Regions from separate parts of the Homo sapiens genome. Here region 2 is linked to region 1. Evidence: promoter capture Hi-C in human tissues and cell types (Jung and others, 2019). All regions are on one chromosome and are shown on one strand. Each heading gives the region's core, a stretch centred on a gene start or on the middle of the fragment in contact. The rest is flanking DNA. Distances are from core to core; before and after follow the strand shown. Region 1 holds the start of WDR70 (WD repeat domain 70). Region 2 overlaps WDR70 (WD repeat domain 70).

Region 1 (3,550 bases), core at 526-3,025:
TAAGAATGCAAAAATTAGCCAGGGGTGGTGGCAGGGCCTGTAATCCCAGCTACTCGCAAGGCTGTGGCAGAATTGCTTGAACCCAGGAGGCGGAGGTTGCAGTGAGCTGAGATCGCGCCACTGCACTCCAGTCTGGGCAATGGAGCGAGACTCTGTCTCAAAAAAAAAAAAAAAAGTCGGGTGTGGTGGCGGTCACATGTAATCCCAGCTACTTAGGAGGCTGAGGCACAAGAATCGCTTGAACCCAGGAGGTGGAGGTTCATTGAGCCGAGATTGTGCCACTGCATTCCAGCCTGGGTGACAGAGTGAGATTCTGTCTCAAAAAGAAAGAGATTCTTCTCCACCTTCTAAACGTTAAAGTGTTGAACTCCCACATTCTGTTTAAGAAGGACAATCCTGAGCACACGATTAGCCTTGTAAACTTTAGACTGACAGGCCAGGTGCAGTGGCTCACGCCTTTAATCGCAGAACTTTGGGAGGCTGAGGTGGGCAGATCACAAGGTCAGGAGATTGAGACCATCCTGGCTAACACGGTGTAAACCCTGCCTCTACTAAAAATAGAAAAAATTAGCTGGGCGTGGTGGCGGGTGCCTGTAGTCTCAAATACTAAATAGCCGGGCATGGTGGCGCACACCTGTAGTCCCAGCTGCTCGGGAGGCTGAGGCAAGAGAATCGCTTGAACCTGGGAGGCAGAGGTTGCAGTCAGCTGAGATCACGCCACTGCACTCCAGCCAAGGCAACAGAGGGAGACTCAGTCAACAACAACAACAACAACAACAAAAAGGCAGAGCGCGGTGGCACGGGGCCTGTAATCCCAGCACTTTGGGAGGCCAAGGTGGGCAGATCACCTGAGGTCAGGAGTTCAAGACCAGCCTGGCCAACATAGCAAAACCCCGTCTCTACTAAATACACAAAAATTAGCCGGGTGTGGTGGCAGGCGCCTGTAATCCCAGCTACTCAGGACACTGAGGCAAGAGAAGAGCTTGAACCTGGGTGGCAGAGGTTGCAGTGAGCCGAGATCACGCCATTGCACTCCAGCCTGGGCAACAGAGTGAGACTCTGCCTCAAAAAAAAAAAAAAAAAAAAAAAAAGCAAAGGGTGTCGCCTGTAATCCCAGCACTTTGGGAGGCCGAGGCAGGCGGATCACTTGAGGCCAGGAGTTCGAAACCAGCCTGGCCAACATGGCAAAACGTCGTGTCTACTAAAAATACAAAAAATTAGCTGCGCGTGGTGGTGGACGCCTGTAATCCCAGCTACTTGGGAGGCTGAGACAGGAGAATCGCTTGAACCCGGGAGGCGGAGGTTGCAGTGAGCCGAGATCACGCCATTGCACTCCAGCCTGGGCGACAGAGGCTCCGTCTCAAAACAAAAACAAAAACAAAAAAAAAACAAACCAAAACAAAAAACCAAAAATTAGCCGGCACCTGTAATCCCAGCTACTCGGGAGGCTGAGGCAGGAGAATCGCTTGATCCCGGGAGGCAGAGGTTGCAGTCAGCTGAGATTACGCCACTGTACTGCAGCCTGGGCGACAGAGGCTCTGGCTTAAAAAAAAAAAAAAAAAAAGGGAAAGGATGTTATAGAAACTCCAGATACTACTTCTCCCCTCCAGTGGTCTGAGTTGCGCGGCGCTTTCCCGCCTGTCCGGTAGGGCGGTGCCGCGCAGAAAGCCGCGGTCCCTCTGCGGAAGGCGCCGCTCTTGGCTTCGGCGGCGCCGCTGTAGCTTGAAGGCGGTACTTCCTCCAGCATTTGCCGCAAGTTATTGGCAAGTTCCCCTGCAGTTGTTTGGGCTGTCCCTGTGGCTGGTTCTGGGGTGTGCGGCCAGCCATGGAGCGCTCTGGGCCCAGCGAAGGTGGGTTTCATGAGGCGAGTCCGGGCGGGGTGGGCCGTGTCGGGGGAGCTGGGGCGCCGCACTAACTAGGCCGCCTCTCTTTTCCTCTTGCTCCAGTGACAGGCTCAGACGCGTCGGGACCGGACCCGCAGCTTGCGGTCACCATGGGCTTCACGGGGTTCGGTGAGTGACTGCCCCAGGCAGAGACCCTCTTCCTTGTGCAGAGGTTTGAAGATCCGCAGAGTGGGAGTGGAGATCGAGCTGTCAACTCGGAATTATTGTAGCTCGGGTGCATACCTTGCAGTTTGTCAATATTCTTCTCCCATTTGTCTTCTATTCTGCGTTATCCGTTGGAACCAACTCAGATGACAGTTATGAGAGTCTGGAGAGAGAGGAAGAGAAAGGATTTTTCTAATTTTAAGTCACCAATAATGCTAAAATGAACATTTTTGTAAATAACAGCATTTGTACGAGGATTTTTAAAAATACGTAATTCGGTAGGGTAGATTTCTAAAAGAGAGTGTAGTTTATTCAGAAATATAAATACTTAAAAAGCTGAAAAATTGGGTATGTGCCTTTTAAAGCTTCTTGATGCTTATTGCCGTAATACCCATCAAAAAACTTGTTCCAGGTTATACCAAAGTTAACAGAATTAAGAATGCCATTTTTACCATATCCCTACCAACACAGAGTAGGTATTATTATTTAAAAAGAAAATTATTTAAAAAATGAAAACAAAACTTAGTAGACTGATACATGAAAAATGATTTCTCTTTATTTTCCATTTTAAAATTATAAATGCTGTTCATCCAAACATTGGGATTCTAACTTCCCTGAACCTTTTCTCAAGGTCTTCTTGTTTTCTTTTGACCAGCGTGTATTAATTCTATGATAGTAATTAAACAGTAGACTTACACATATTGGCCTTGGGTTGTGTTCACACATACTAGTTCTGTAGTTTCTCTATTCATTCTTTTTTTTTTTGGAGACGGAGTCTCGCTCAGTCGCCCAGGCTGGAGTGCGGTGGCAAGATCTCGGCTCACTGCAATCTCTGCCTCCCGGATTCACGCCATTCTCCGGTCTCAGCCTCCCGAGTAGCTGGGACTACAGGCGCCCGCCACCTCGCCCGGCTGATTTTTTTTTTGTATTTTTAGTAGAGACAGGGTTTCACCGTGTTAGCCAGGATGATCTCGATCTCCTGACCTCGTGATCCGCCCGTCTCGGCCTCCGAAAGTGCTGGGATTACAGGCGTGAGCCACTGTGCCCAGCCTTTTCTATTCTTTTTTTATTTTTTGAGATGGAGTCTCGCTCTGTCACCCAGGCTGGAGTGTACTAGTGCGATCTTCGCTCATTGCAGCCTCCTCCTCCCAGGCTTAAGCCATCCTCCCACCTTAGTCTCCTGAGTAGCTGGGACCACAGATGTGTGCCACCACACCTGGCTAATTTTTTATACTTTTGGTAGAGACGAGGTTTCACCATGTTGCCCAGGCTGATCAATCTCCTGAGCTCAAGCAGTCCGCCCACCTGAGCCTCTCAAAGTGATTACAGGCATGAGCCACCCCACCCGGTATAAATCCTTCATTTTAGTACATCATTCCTTTACTCAGGAGTGAGAAAGTTGTCCATATGTTTGTGCCAAATAGGGGAAAATTTTAAGAGTTTTGATAAAGTTACTGGGGGAGGAGGAGAATGTTTCCATGCTCATCCAGTTCCTTGTTAGA
Region 2 (3,550 bases), core at 497-2,996, 53 kb after region 1:
AGGCTGGAGTGCAGTGGCATGATCTCAGCTCACTGCAACCTCCGCTTCCTGGGTTTAAGCGATTCTCCCACCTCAGGCTCCCAAGTAGCTGGGATTACAAGCCTGCGCCACCACACCCAGCTAATTTTTGTATCTTTAGTAGTGACGGGGTTTCACCATGTTGGCCAGGCTGGTCTCAAACTCCTGACCTCAAGTGATCCACCTGCCTCGGCCTCCCAACTGCTGGGATTACAGATGCGAGCCACCGTGCCCAGCATGTGTATGTATACAGTTTTTTTTTCCTTCTATCGTCCAGGTTGGAGTGCAGTGGCGCAATCTTGGCTGACTGCAACCTCTGCCTCCCGGGTTCAGGCCATCCTCCTGCCTCAACCTCCTGGGTAGCTGGGACTACAGGCTTGTGCCACCATGTCTGGCTAATTTTTGTATTTTTACTAGTGATGGGGTTTCACTGTGTTGGCTAGGCTGGTCTGGAACTCCTGACCTTAGGTGATCAGGCTGCCTTGGCCTCCCAAAGCGTTGGGATTGCAGGCATGAGCCCCTGTGCCTGGCCATATATATTTAAAGTTCTGACTGTCATCGGATTGCAAGATTCATGAAGGCAGGAACCTTCTTTCTTTAAAACCAGAATATCATCAGTGCTAGGCATAGTCAGTACTCAATAAATATTTATTGAATAGTTAATTATAAGAGTGACGTCAGGGCTTTGGGTGGAGAGTAACAGAGCTATCTTTATTTCTTCACATCTTAAGTCCTTAAGATCTCTTATATAATTCCTCTTTTTTTTTCTTTTTTCCATTCCCACTGTATTATGTCAATTCAGGTCCTCTCTGGATTATTGCAAGAATATTTTAATAGGCTTCCCTGTGCTTACACTGGCATTTACCTTATACTGGTAATTTCCTAGTTCAGCCTCCACACCACAGCCTTGATGATTTTTTAATTATTAATTTTATTGTGCTAAAAACACATAACATAAAGTTTACCGTCTTAACCATTTTTAAGTGTACAATTCAGTATTGTTACATATATTCACATTATTGTACAATCAATCCCCAGAACTTTTTCATTTTGCTAACTGAAACTCTATATCCATTAAATAGCAACTCCCAGTTTCCTCCTGCCCCCAGCCCCTGGCAGCAACCATTCTGCTTTCTATCTCTATTAATCGGACTGCTCTAGCACATATAAGTGGAACCATATAGTATTTGTCTTTTTCTAACTGATGTATTTTACTTAATATAATGTCTTCAAGGTTCATCTGTGTTGTAGCATGTGTCGGAATTTTCTTTCTTTTAAGACGGAAAAATATTCTGTTTTATGTTTATGTCACGTTTTGTTGATTAATTCATCCATCAGTGGATACTTGGGTTGCTTTTCACCTCTTGGTTGTTGTGAATACTACTGTGAACGTGGATGTACAAATAGCTCTTCAAGACTCTGCTTTCAATTCTTTTGGGTATATACCCAGAATTGGAATTGCTGGATCATACAGTAATTATATTTTTAATTTTCTGAGATACTACCAAGCTGTTTTCCGTAGTAGCTATACCATTTTACATTCCTACCAACATTGCACAAGGATTCCAGTTTCTTTACCTCCTTACCAACACTTGTTATTTTCTGTTTATTTGATAGTAAAAGTTTTTTGATCCTAGTGTGAAGTGATATTTCATTGTGCTTTTAATTTGCATTTCCTTAATTATTAGTGATGCTGAGCATCTTTTCATGTGCTTATTGGCCATTTGTTTACCTTCTTTGGAGAAATGCCTGTTCAAGTCTTTTGCTCATTTTATTTTTATCTTTGAGACGTAGTCTCGCTCTGTGGCCCAGGCTGGAGTGCAGTGGCGTGATCTCGGCTCACTGCAACCTCCGCCTCCTGAGTTCAAGCGATTCTCCTGCCTCAGCCTCCTGAGTAGCTGGGACTACAGGCGTGTGCCACCACGCCCGGCTAATTTTTGTATTTTTTTTTTTTTTACTAGAGATGGGGTTTCGCCGTGTTAGCCAGGATGGTCTCGATCTCCTGACCTTGTGATCCGCCCACCTCAGCCTCCCAAAGTGCTGGGATTACAGGCATGAGCCACCGCGCCCGGCCTTTGAGCCACCGCGCCCGGCCTTTCTGGCTAACTTTTTGTATTTTAGTAGAGACGGGATTTTGCCATGTTGGCCAGGGTGGTCTTGATCTCCTGACCTTCCTCGTGATCTGCCTGCCTTGGCCTCCGAAAGTGCTGGGATTATAGGCGTGAGCCACCGCACCCGGCCTTTTGCTCATTTTAAAATGAGGTGGTTTGTTTTTTTCTGTTGTTGAGCTGTAGAAATTAAAAAACATATATAATCTGGATTTTAATCCCTTATATATAAGATTTGCGCAAATTTTCTCCCATTTCTCTGTAGATTGTCTTTTTACTGTATTGATTATCTCTTTTGATGCCCAGAACACCTTGGCGATATTTTAAAATCTCAGATTTTTTTTTGTTGTTGTTGAACAGAGTCTCAGTCACCTGGGCTGGAGTACAGTGGCACGATCTTGGCTCATTGCAACCCTCACCTCCTAGGTTCAAGCAATTCATGTGCCTCAGCCTCCCAAGTAGTTAGAATTACAGGTGTGTGCTACCACGCCTGGCTAATTTTTGTATTTTTAGTAGAGATGGGGTTTCACCATGTTGGTCAGGCTGGTCTCAAACTCCTGGCCTCAAGTGATCCGCCTACCTTGGCCTTACAAAGTACTGGGATTACAGGCATGAGCCACCGTGCCTGGCCTAAAATCTCAGACTTTATCAAATTACTTTCTATGACTCAGAGCTTAAACTTCTGTTTTTTGGAATTGTATACAGCCTGATTTGGAACTCTCTCTCTGGCTTTTATGTATACAGTTGGCCCTTTGAGAGGAATTGGCTCCAGGACTCTCCTGCTGATCCCCAAATGCAAGGATGCTGAAGTCCCTTATATAAAAATGGCATAGTGCTGTATATGTATAACACATACACCCTTGCTCTATTTTCTGCCTAGCAATTCAAACTCTAGTAAGGGAAAAATACTTGAAGTTCAGAAAGTGTCAAGATTTATATTATTCTCTCCTGGATGTTCATCATATTCATCTAGATAACCTCTATTTTTTGAAAGATACCAGAAATCTCTTTTCTAACCACCTACTTTCTTAGGCAGAATGGAATTGAGCACTGAACCCTGTGTATACTTCTGTTACAGCAACTGAAACATTTTCATTTGCCCATTTGTTTACCTGTCTTATTTTGCTTTTCTGGACTGACAGTTCTGTGTAAGCAGAGTCTTTGTTAATAGTTCTTTTATCATTAATCTAACCCAGTGTGTGGTATGTAATTAAATAATAAATGTTTCTTAAGTGAATGTTTAGTGAGTAAATGAAGGTATTAGTTCATTCTCACACTGCTATGAAGAAATACACAAGACTGGATAATTTGTAAAGGAAAGAGGTTTAATTGACTCACAGTTTCACACTTCTGGGGAGGCCTCAGGACACTTACAATCACGGCAGAAGGCAAAGGAGAAACACCTTCTTCATAGGGTGGCAAGA

Evidence for each region. The method cuts DNA at HindIII sites, captures the fragments that hold promoters and counts their contacts. A contact is called where the count stands out against the background at its distance.
Region 2: a contact is called between a fragment that was not itself captured here and the fragment with the promoter of WDR70 in region 1, in 1 of the 25 tissues and cell types used here (lymphoblastoid cells).

What each region holds. Positions count from the first base shown.
Region 1 is chr5:37,377,543-37,381,092 of GRCh38, forward strand. WDR70 (WD repeat domain 70) reads left to right here and starts at 1,776. Exons shown (of 18, transcript NM_018034.4): 1 at 1,776-1,850; 2 at 1,947-2,012. The coding sequence starts at 1,826. The HindIII fragment of the contact is 7,487 bases long and covers 1-3,550 here.
Region 2 is chr5:37,430,604-37,434,153 of GRCh38, forward strand. All of the region lies in intron 5 of WDR70 (WD repeat domain 70), which reads left to right. Among named protein-coding and RNA genes, the nearest start is that of WDR70, 53 kb to the left of the region's middle. RefSeq lists an enhancer at 2,030-2,532. The HindIII fragment of the contact is 5,729 bases long and covers 1-3,550 here.